Regions from separate parts of the Homo sapiens genome. Here region 2 is linked to region 1. The links are contacts of gene promoters, found by promoter capture Hi-C in human tissues and cell types (Jung and others, 2019). All regions are on one chromosome and are shown on one strand. The core of a region is centred on a gene start or on the middle of the fragment in contact, and the rest is flanking DNA. Distances in the headings are between cores, read along the strand shown.

Region 1 (5,808 bases), core at 2,279-4,778:
CCATCAACAAAAGGGGCCAATCATCTCCGCTCACCCCTGCTGGTCACAGAAAATGTTTCTGACTTTCATCACCAAAGAGTAATGTTACTTGCTCTTGAATTTTATAAATATAGAATCTTAGAGTATATGCTTTTTTGTGTCTTAATATTTTCACTCATCATTATGTCTGTGAGATTTATCCATGTAGTTCAATATTGTATTGCTGTGTACTAGTCCATTACATGACTACATGGCATTTATTCATTCTCAGAAAATTTCTATTCTTTAAAACACTGTAAAACAGCAAGCGCTGTTATCTCCAATCTTCACTTTTCTCCTGAGATACACCTTCCTGTATTTAAGCACCAATGGCCTCTTTCCTTGACTATTAAAATAGATTTTGATTCCTTTTCCTCCTAGCAACGCATTCTGTACACAACTACCAGGTTGATCTTCATGAAATCTAACTTTCATTATGTCATTCTAGTTTTTCTTTTTCTACATGATAAAGCTGAAAACCCATGGTTTAGAAATTTTAAAACTCTTCTAATCTCACACTGTTTTTTAGATAGTTTGCTCACTGCACTATATCTCTATCCTCCCACCACACATGTGCACACAGACACACACATCTCTCAATCAAATTAAAATCTATTTCCTATTTTCACTCCTCCCATAACATTCTGTCCACCTGAAGTGCAACACTCTTTATTCTTCAGATTGTCCCATCTCTCCAAGCTAATCTGCAGCTGCACCTATGCAGTGAGAACTTCCATCACTTCCCTTCTTTTAGCTCCATTCCCTGGGCATTTATTTACATCTCCCCCAACATCTACACATATACATACACATACACTCAGGAAAGCAAGAGCTATTTCCTAATACAAAGTCTTAAATTCAATATTCTTATTTGCAAAACAGGAATAATACATAGTTTTGGGGGTGGTTGTGAGGAGGAAATGAGATTATGTATGTAAACAATGTGACACATTTTAGGCATTTAGTTGGCACTCAGTAGCGATAGCCTTTGCCACTATCACCTTATTCAATTATTTTGGCAAGATAATAGGCTTCAGAGTCATCTTCATGAGATTTTCTCCAGTGTAGTAGTCAAAGCAAATTAAGTAATGTATAGTCCTTGGTGTTTTCCCAGAGGAAATGATTGCATACATCCACCAAAAGACAAGCACAAAAACATTTATAACAAGTTTACTTATAATAGCCAAAAAACCCCAGAAACATCCCAAATATCTATCAAGAACAGAATGAATAAATGCCATGTAGTCATGTAATAGAGTGGTGCACCGCAATAAAACATACAACTACATGGATAAATCTCAGAGACAAAATGATGAGTGAAAGGATCAAGACACAAAAGAGTGTATACTCTAAGATCCTATATTTACAAAGTTCAAGAGCAAGTAACATTAATCTTTGGTGATGGAAGTCAGAATATAATTATCTCTGGGGAGTGGAGGGTTTTGACTGAGAACGTTCACGAACATGCTTCCTGCAGTGCTGGAAATAAAGTGAGTAATGGTTACATTGATGCATATATAGGCAAGAATTAAACTATACACTTGTGGCAATTCTTAATGTATATTCTGCCTCTTTAAAATTTTTTACACGGCTTCAGACTTTATAGGAGAAGAAAGTACAAGCAAGTTTTCTTTTTCAAGTTGTCTTCTTATCTGCCATCACCTCTTTCCTCTCTCTTTTACAGATTTTGGAAATTTTAACTTTCTTTCCATTGAAATTAGCAATCCTTTGTTCAACCTCTCCCTCTATTTACCCACTCCCTTATGCTATTTTAACATTTCAGTATGTTGTCACTTGGGACAAGTTCAGTGGGTCTCTGCCTCTAGAAATCACAAAAGTAAATAACTCAGCAGTTGGGTAGCAATAGATTTAGGCTCTCAGTGGTTCTCTTGGTTATTTTATTCTAGAAAGAGAGCTCAGGACCCTGTGGGACCACCATTCTCTGACATGTTTTGTAGCTTAGGCAAACAGATACTTGCAGTATGCAGAAGGAAGTTCAACGTTGTATAAGATACAGAGAAGAAAATATAGGTGAAAGTGATAGATGTGTGAGTCTGAGGGGATGAATGAAGAAAATTTCTAATTTTTCTTTATTCATTCAGAACTTACGGCTACTTGATGCAGTTTAGCTAATCTCCATGTGTACTTCTTACACATTCATTAAATCTCTACATACTTTTTTTTTCTAGTTCTTTACAAAATAATCTCCGATGTTGCTCTCCATTTAAGGAAACTAAATTGAAAGACTCCTCTCGCTTTCTGACTATATATTTATCTTCTTCATACTTCCCCCACCACATGACTTAGCATGGATCTCCCAAGTTCCTTCCCCAGCTCCAGCCCCCAGCTCTTCCCTTGAATTGGATTTTTCTTCAACTATTACTCTTTTTCCTATGCTCCTGCCAAAATCTAGTTTAGTATGCTAGTTAGCGGGACATGTTTCAGTTTTGTACCCTCATTAGGATATCAAAAATATATACTTCACACTTCAATGTAAAGTTAATATTTTCTTCCCTTCTCCTTTCCTCCCTTTTCCCTCCACCTCCCTCCCTTTTTTCCTCCCTCCCTCTCTTTCAATTCACAGGCCCAGCAACAGCACCTGCTTCACAGAAACAAGGCTGGTCCTGTTCTGATTTCTCTAGTCTTCCTTTAAAAACTAAACGGAGATGCACAGTCCCTCTTCCTGACACACACAGAAGTGAAAGGAGACACACAGAGGGAAAACACCACAGGCAAAACAATTCCCTTTTTTGGAGGGACATTTTTGAAACTTAATCTCTCCCCAGAAACCTGAAGTTCTCCTCTTTGCCTTTGTCCTTACAGTCCTGGTGTGGGGGCAGAATGTTTCCTGATTTAGCTGTCCTGGCCTCTAAATCTGTTTCACTCTCTAGCCATCTTACTGGGTTCTTGCTCTCTTTTGCCTCTCTCTCCTCTTGGGTCTCTGGGGTGTGTGTGTGTGTGTGTGTGTGTGTGTGTGTGTGTACTATTTCTCACTTGGGGGCTCATTTCTAATTAAGTAATCCAAGAGGCTAAAAAATGCACAAAACAACCAAATGAAACCTCAAATTAGATGGAAAATGGCTCAGATGGGTCCCAATCTCTGGGAGTTCTAGTTAAGCAAGCAAACAAAATGGGCTGGGATAAATGATTATTGTAACTCAGGAAGATTAGAAGAAAATGTAATTAGCTCCCCAGCTACTTCTTGTTCCCCAGCCTTTTTAAGAGTGTCCAACGCCCCACCCGTGAATGTACCCAAGGCTTCCTTATACACACCAAAAAGTCCCCACTGCAACGCTGGGAGGGTTAACAGAGCTGGTACCCCAGCCTGCCAGCTCACCAAAGGAGAGAGCGGTGAGGCTCAGAGCCCGCCCCCTGCCAAGCCGCCCAGCCAATGGGCACCTGTGGGGAGTGTGGCGCTGTGTCCCATTGGCTGCCAACCTACATGCATAAGAAAGAAAGAGAGAGGCAGGCAGGGCAGCATTGTTATCTTAAGACACTCATCTGGTGTCTGAGTCTGCAGGTGACACTGCTTAGGTACGGAGCGCGGAGTCGGAGCGGGGACGCGCCGGGCTGCAGCTCTGGGATGCAATCCGCCTGCCTCGCAAGCTGCTCGCCGCTGCGCTGGCAGCGCTTACGCTGAGCTCGGAGGATCCCATTAGGACTTGCCCGGGGATGTGCACCTGCCGTGCGCTCCGAGGTCAGTGGCAGGTCTGCAGGCAGCCGAGGGAGCGGTGAAGCCGGAAGACCTGTCTCTGCCCATGTGCAAGGCAGTGATTTCGGGTGAGAGAGCGGGTGGGTGAGTCTCTTTAGAGTTGGAAAGAAGGCAAAATCTTGGGTTTCTCCTCGGCGGAGGGACAGGGGACTCCCCCAGTTGGGTCTTGCACTTCCCTTACCTCTCCCACCCCGCGTGCGCCCCGGCCCAGTGCCGAAGCCCCACTTCAAAGATGCTCTGGGAGACCGGGATCCTGGCTGCTCAGCGGGAAGGCAGCAGGCAAGTGGTCTAACGTTGGCGGCGGTGGCGGTGGCGGCGGCGGCGGCACCGACAGTAAAGCGGGGAGCAAGAGAATTTGAAAAGAGACATCCGCTCCCTCTCACACGCTGAGGGGGAGGCATTCGCGTTTCCCCAAATGAGAAAGAACCACAAGAAATCATGAAGTAAAAACTTTGGAAAGCTGCCACTGGAGATGTTGCACAAAAACCTGGAATCTTTTAGGAGTCTCCTCCCAGTCGTTGAAGGTTTGGGGAGCAGCTGATACAGCAAGGAGGGCTCTTGCAAGGATTCAAGGTAACAGTGCAGGGTTTCGGTGATTTTTCTCCCCTTTTCATTGTCCTTTTTGGTGTGTCCGTTGGTAAAGGGACCATTTTGCTCTCATACAACCCTCTTGCCCTGGTGCCTGGCAGTGGCAGGCAGAGGGAATGATGCCACCTCTCCTAGTTTCTGTCTTGTGGAGTTGAGCAATGGACTTTGGGGTTGAGCTAGAGATTGCTCTGGTATTGCCTCCTGGTGTTGCATGGCTGTCAGAGGGTTTGGGCTCCCTGCCTGACCTATATTGCTTTTGCCTGGTTTAAGTCCTCAAAGTTAGTGCAACTCCTATTAGCTTCAGAAAATTCAATAGGGCTGCATAATTGCAGAAGATGACGAGGACTTTTGCCTGCCCAGCTGACGCTGGGAGGTTCATTATGTTTGGGAAGGAGCCCAAAGAGCTGAGGTTACAATGCACGATATCTATATTATCGTGCTCATAGAGCCCTATGGCATGTTTCCCATGCACATGCAGTCAGGAAAATAAAATTCCAAACAGTGAACCCTGTAGGTTGCAAATAGTCTCCCCAGGGTGGTGGCAGAAGCCCCATTGATTGACTTGAGCCTGGCAGAGCACTGGAGACACTAGGGAAGAACATTGCTGTGCTGAAAGGTGGGATGTGCTGGTATCATCTAGCAGATCTCTGTCTCTGTTTTTGTGATCATCTGGGTACACTGTCGAATGCTGCCTGTGGTGTGTGTATGTATGTGTGCTTGTGCTCACAGCTGTATGCAGGAAACAGGCTGCCCACAGAAGAACCAAGCATGTCCAGCACCCTGTCCAAATCACGGATGCCTGGAGTGTTCCTGCCTAGTAGGAACACGAACTTGTGAGCTGTTGTTCCAGCCCAGAGGACTCTTCTCCTCACCAAGCAGTCCCTCTGCATGGTACATATTTATCCAGGGTATATAGACCTAAGCCAAATGTTAACCAATGTTCAAGCTAATGCACTGTAATGTGATTGAACAGACCCCTCTGTAAAGAATTGTGTGTGTGCTCTTTGCAGCCCTAGGAGCAGGGTGCTATGAGCAGAAACAAATGTTTTGTTAAAAGGATAACAATTATAAAAGGTCAAGCTTATAGTTGGGTAATCTAGGCCTTATTCAGCAGGGACATTGTTATGTCAGCATAGACCAATCAGAGGGATAAAAGGTATATTATAAGTCAAGTATTTCTGCTTCTGTCCTTCTCCAGACATGTGCATGTTGAAGTGACTCTCTCTGACCATGCTCGCTAAAATACATGCAATGCCAGTATTAACCAAGCAACTAAAGTATACCAAATCCCCCGGGGGGCAGTCTGATGACATCAGGCAACAGCAAAGTGATGCTGGAGTTTGTGTGCTTTCCCTCCTGACTCACACAGTTGTGTGTATGTTATTTGTTTAAGGCATGACCCTCTGGAGTCCCCCTTCACCCAGAATAAGTTGCTTTGCAGCACTGAGGGCATGACCGAGACATGCTGCCACAATGATCCTGTCTTATCA
Region 2 (6,091 bases), core at 2,941-5,440, 260 kb before region 1:
CACAGAGTGTCTTCACACAAACCTAGATGGTATAGCCTGCCACACACCTAGGTATATGGTGTAGCACAGGGGTCCCCAACCCCCAGGCCATGACTGGTACCAGTCCATGGACTGTTAGGAACCGAGCTGCACAGCAGGAAGTGAGCGGTGGGTGAGAGAGCATGAACACCTGAGCTCCACCTCCTGTCACATCAGCGGTGGCATTAGATTCTCATAGAAATGCAACTCTATTGTGAACTGCACATGCAAGGGATCTAGTTGTGTGCTTCTTATGGGAATCTAATGATAAATGTAATGCTCTTGAATCATCCCCAAACCATCCCCTCTGACCTGTCCATGGAAAAATTGTCTTCTATAAAACCCGTCCCTGGTGCCAAAAAGGTGGGGGATCACTGGTGTAGCATATTGTTCCTAGGCTATAAACCTGTACAACATGCTACTGTACTGAATTCTGTAGGCAATTGTAACACATGTAAGTATTTGTATGTCTAAACATAGAAAAGGTACTGTAATAACATGGTATAAAAAGATAAAAAATGGTCCACCTGTAAAGGGCACTTACCGTGATTGGAGCTTCCAGGACTGGAAGCTGCCCTGGGTGAGTCAGTGGGTGAGTGGTGAGTGAATGTGAAGGCCTAGGGCATTACAGTACACTCCTGCAGACTTTAGAAACACTGGACACTTAGGCTACACTAAATTTACTTTTGTTTTTCTTTCTGCAATAATAAATTAACTTTAGCTTACTATAAGTTTTTTACTTCATAAACTTTTTAATATTTTAAATGTGTTCACTCTTTTGTAATAACACTGAGCTTAAAACACAAATTGCACAGCCATATGAAAATATTTTTTCTTTATACACTATTGTATATGCTTTTCTCTATTTTTTAAATTTTTATTTTTTTATTTTTTTTACTTTGTAAACTTTTTTGTTAAAAACGAAGACACAAACACATACATTAGCATTGTTTTCCACCTCCATATCTTGTCCCACTGGCAGGTCTCTAGGGGCAGTAAGATGCTTGGAGCTGTCATCTCCTGAAATAACAATGCCATCTTCTGAACTACCTCCTGGAAGACCTGCCTGAAGCTGTCTTACAGTTAACCTTTAAAAAATGAGTACACTCTAAAATAATGATAAAAAGCATAGTATCAGAAATATGTAAACCAGTAACTGCCATTTATTATCAGGTATTACGTACTGTACATAATTGTGTGTGTTAGACTTTTATACGACTGGCAGCGCAGTAGTTTTGTTTACACCAACATTACCACAGACATGAGAGTGACGCATGATGCTGTAACATTACAATGGCTACATCACTCAGTGGCAGAAATTTTTCAGCTACATTACGATCTTATGGGACCACTGTCATATACGTGGGCTTGCATTGACCAAAATGTTGTTATGTGACAAATGATGGTGCTCTTTAATAAAATATCAAATAAGGACCAGATTATATCAGGAGACGTATGCAAGGGAAGAATCATTGAGAAGGAAGCTTTTGGGATAGGCTCAAGGATACAGGCATCTTTAATAACAAGAGCTACCATCTATGGTGGAAGTCAGCAAACTTTTTCTGTAAAGAATCAGATAGGAAATATTTTTGGCCATGCAGTCTCTGTTGCAACTACTCAACTGTGCCTTTGTAGTGCAAACACAGCTATGGGTATTATGTAAACAAATGCACATGGCTCTGCTTCAATAAAACATTATTTATGGATGGTAAAATTTATTTATGATGTTCATGGCACATAATATTGTTTTTCTTTCTTAGTTTTATCTTTCAATCATTTAAAAAGGTAGAACCCATTCTTAGCTTGAGGGCCATATAAAAACAGGTAGCAGACCAGATTTGCCTGCAGGTCATAATTTGCTGACCCCTGACTGTTCATTAAAAATAAATGCTTTAGTATACCCATTCTCATTGAATTCTTAGACCTGCTCTTTGAGGCAGGTATACTCATTTCCATTTTCTAGATATCCAAGATGAAGTTTAGAGAACTTAGGTCATACAGATTTCAAAGGCCTTTCTTTTAACCACTAAGCTATACTACCTCCCATAATGGTAAGGAACACAGGGGGATGGTGGAATGAGTAGGTTTTCTTTAGCCAAAGGAATTTAAAAATCTAAAAGTAGTTTTAACAAAGAATATGAGGCTTGCTATCATGGCTTTCTCATAGCAAGCTCATTTTAGATCTCTGCGATTACTACATTCTCTGTTTTCACAAGTCAAGCACAGGAAAGATATAATGTTAATAAGCTCTACTTTTCAGAATATAATATTCCCCCATATTTGAAGAAAAAAGAACAGCCTTCTAGCATTTGTTCCAACTTCTCTCCACCATCCATGATCCCACGGAAGGTCGTGCCCACCCCTGCAGGTAACAGGTATGCTTGAAGATCTTGCTCTCCCCTGCTGGAAGATCAAATTCTATCAAAGTTGCCCATTTCTCTCTTTCCTTCTCTCACTGATTTAAGCAACAATTCTCTCTTACTTGGCTTCCTTGCTTTCTTCTTGTTTAAAGGTAATTTTATGTGTCAGAGAGAATGGAAGGAAGACAGGGGTTGCCATGTTCTCTCCATTACCTATTAAGATTACAGGAGGTGGTGATTTCAATTCTTCTTTGGTCCTCTTCTTTCTCTAAACACAGCTAAAATGTCCTTTATACTGTCTGTGGGTTTTTTCACAAATGTAGGATCACATTGGGTTGTTGGCTTTCTGATGCTATTGATAGGTTCATCAGTCAGTGCACGTCCATGAATGCATGTGCCCAGCATTGGGCTAGGTACTGTGGGAGCTGTAAAGGTAGGATTTACAATCTATGTGGGATACAAGACTAACAAACATGTGATAATAGTAATAATAACAGCTGCTCACTATTAAAACATTTTCTATGCCCTGGCACTCTGCTAAACACTTTGCATGTATTCTGTCAAATAAAAAACAAACTTGGATTTAGAAGAATTTTATTCTAAGCGATTATTGCTGGGGCAGGGTAGGGAAGCCATTGAATTTGGAAGAATGCTCTGATAAAGTCTGCAAGCATCTCTAGAGTTGAACAAAAAGAGTTTTTAACTTTTATAGACAGAAGTGAACAAGGCTACAAAGAATCTGGTGTGGAGAAGCATCATGATTGGAAAGTAGATAAGAGAATGTTTTACCTGAAACCAGCCTACATTCAGTAGTCACTATACACAGCTCAGGCTAAGGGTGAGCCGAAGCTCAAGGGCTTGGGGGAAGAAGAAAAGTTTAACCAACATTTGGTTCACAAGCATTTTGTTGTGATTGATTAGAAGAGACAAACAATTTAGCTAATGACTTATAAGGCAAACAACGGGAATTTGAAGAGTGTATCTGGCTATATTTTAGGTAAACAAGGGGGGCATCATGAGTCTTATCTAAGTCTCATGGGGAAGGGTGAAATTCAACATTGTCAGTTCTCTATATGAATCTCAGTGGTTGGTGCTAAAATAGTTCCTATTTCAGAGATGACAAAACCGGGCAACAGAGAGGTTTATTACTTTGTCCAAGGTCACAGAATTATCAGTAGAAAAGTTGGAGCTTATATTCAGATCTGTCTGACTCCAGGGTAGTCAATCAGTCCTAAATTCTATGGTAGAGACTATAAGTGTCACAGGACTTTGGAGGAGAGAGGACATGAGTGAGGCCCAGGGGAGTCGCCAAAGGCCTCATGGAGGAATATGTTCTGAAGAATGGGCAGGCTTCGCTGACTAGGTAGTTAGAAACAGTGTAAATTATTCAGGGCAGAGACAATAAGGTCAAAGAAACAGAGGTGAAGGTGGCCACAGAGGTCATTACAAAGCTTAACTCTGTGTTATGGAGGTTTTAACTGGATAAAGAATAAGCATTAATTTACATAAATAGGCTAGGGTCATACCGCATGGGGTCCTGAAGAACCAGTCCAGGAATTTTGAGCCTGAAGCAAGTTAGGAAGCAAGCAGTGCCTTGCCTTGGTCAGAAGCTACACAGGAATGGCACTAAACCGAGTTAAACTGAGTCAGGCAGTGAAATGACTTACAACAAATGAAAATTTGAATGAATCGTAGACCGGAGGGAAAAATAGCCAAAAGGCTGTAACAACAATGCGACCTTGGAGGTCTGGGAGTCAGACTGGGGTAGCAACCGTGTACAGAGAATGAGGGACAATCCAGGGGGTATTTTAGAAGAAATGAAAGGATTTGGTGCCAGATATGGATAGAGGAGGTTAAAGAGAAAACTTTCCTCTTATTAGAAGATGCATAATAATAAAAACTCAGAATCTTTCTAAGTAGGTTTGTAGAACTTTTGTCTTTTAGGGTCCTTTAGTATCATTACTCAAAATCACAAATAGACAAAAAAATTTTCATGCTCTGATGTAATGGGAAAATCTAAGTTAAAATTAGCAGGTTTCCTGTCAACCGTTGAAAACCATTAAAATTCTAATATTTATTACAAGTACCCAAGGAAAAAATATAGCATACAGTGTTGGTCAAAAATAATTTGAACATAAAAATCACTTCTTGCAGATCATTTCATTGAATTAGCGTGCTACCGAGCCCACTTTGGGAAATACCCTAATAGTTACATTACTGAGGACCTACCATGGGCCAGGTGTTCTACCCGCCTTATGACTCTTAGTCCTTACAATATTCTCATTAACTTGTTTTGCAGATGAAGAAACTAAGGCTTGGAGGCTTTAAGTCATCTGTTTGATGATCAGGCAAGCACTGAGTATCTAACTACCAAACCCTCCTCCCCTCCTTGCATCAAGCCTCCTTCCACATTACAGATGTACAAGATCTTCAAAAGCAGACTTTCCCAGCAACCTCCAGAACACTTGATTATTGGATTTTTCACAGTTGTTTTCAACAGTTTCTGAAATCCTTTCCTGGATGCAGGATATCATGCATCCTGGGCCTGCTGACACCAGCTTCCAATCTATTGGCATTCACCTGCTGTCGTACACAGCTTCCGGTGGTATCATTCGGATTTTAGATTACTCCTCTCCCTTTGTTCCCCAGAACCCAACATCTATAAACATGAAAACACAGGCAGGAAAGGGTACAATGAGCAATCTCCAGCTTCTTAATGCAGGCGGTGTGATGCGGGGAGGAGAGGGAGGGCACGATAAGGTCCCGATGTCTCACATGTCCCTGGAATTGACATGCACCAGGCTAGTGCTTGCAGTCACTACCATCATAGACCGTTTAGTGTTAAATTTAGAATTAAAACCAATTAAAAGATAACAAGAAAACATATGCTTGGAATGGCAAGAATCAAACATGACTGCTAGCTACTGCAGGGAGGTATTAGAATGTTTTACAAACCCGAAACTTGCCCATTCTCAGTCTTTCACCCATGTCCCTGGTTTATCTCCACCCAAATGGCTTTCAATGGAAAAATCACTGGGATCTTTACTACAGTGAATCTGAAAACTGGAGTTAGAAAAGACTCACCATTGACCCTTTCTCTTGTGCTAGGTCAGATGACTGAGTCCATCTGGATTCAAGGTTGTGTTCGAATAACGGCTGGGGCTAGGATTGAGGTGCTTCTCCTTGGGGTCATGGTCAAACACAGGTTATTTGTGAGATAAGGATGCAGATGAGTATGTAGGTTCCCCATTCCTCCCTTATATCTCAGGAAGGTAGGTGTGCCTGCAGCTCCAGAGTTGGGGGTAGACACCCCAGAAAGGTGAGTGCTGCCTTTGGCATCCCCAGACATGTCAGCATCCAGAAACAAATTGTACTGTCAAAAAAGGCAGTAATTCTGCTGCTCAGTAATCCAAGTCAGCCAGTTTAATGTCTGGGTGAAAGATCTCTACATTCTTACTTTGCCATCATTGAGGGGGGTCCCCGCAGAGCCCACAGGTTTTCCATGTATGTCTCCCTAGGAGATTTCCACGAGTGTGCACTGCTATGGCTCAACACACCCTCACCCTCCACATCCAAAGAGTCACCTATTGGCAGTATTTCCTAAATTAACGTCATATCAACTTTCCACTAGACATTTCTTCCCTCTTCATCCAGACCCTCAGCAGCTCCCACCTGGTTTACTCCAAAATTTTCCTGACTGGTACACTTCCCTC

Evidence for each region. The method cuts DNA at HindIII sites, captures the fragments that hold promoters and counts their contacts. A contact is called where the count stands out against the background at its distance.
Region 2: a contact is called between a fragment that was not itself captured here and the fragment with the promoter of BRINP2 in region 1, in 1 of the 25 tissues and cell types used here (dorsolateral prefrontal cortex).

What each region holds. Positions count from the first base shown.
Region 1 is chr1:177,167,430-177,173,237 of GRCh38, forward strand. It overlaps BRINP2 (BMP/retinoic acid inducible neural specific 2), which reads left to right and starts at 3,529. Exons shown (of 8, transcript NM_021165.4): 1 at 3,529-4,303. RefSeq lists enhancers at 3,167-3,756, 3,757-4,345. The HindIII fragment of the contact is 8,375 bases long and covers 1-5,808 here.
Region 2 is chr1:176,910,639-176,916,729 of GRCh38, forward strand. The region is part of intron 16 of ASTN1 (astrotactin 1); the gene reads right to left. Among named protein-coding and RNA genes, the nearest start is that of MIR488, 120 kb to the right of the region's middle. The HindIII fragment of the contact is 7,253 bases long and covers 565-6,091 here.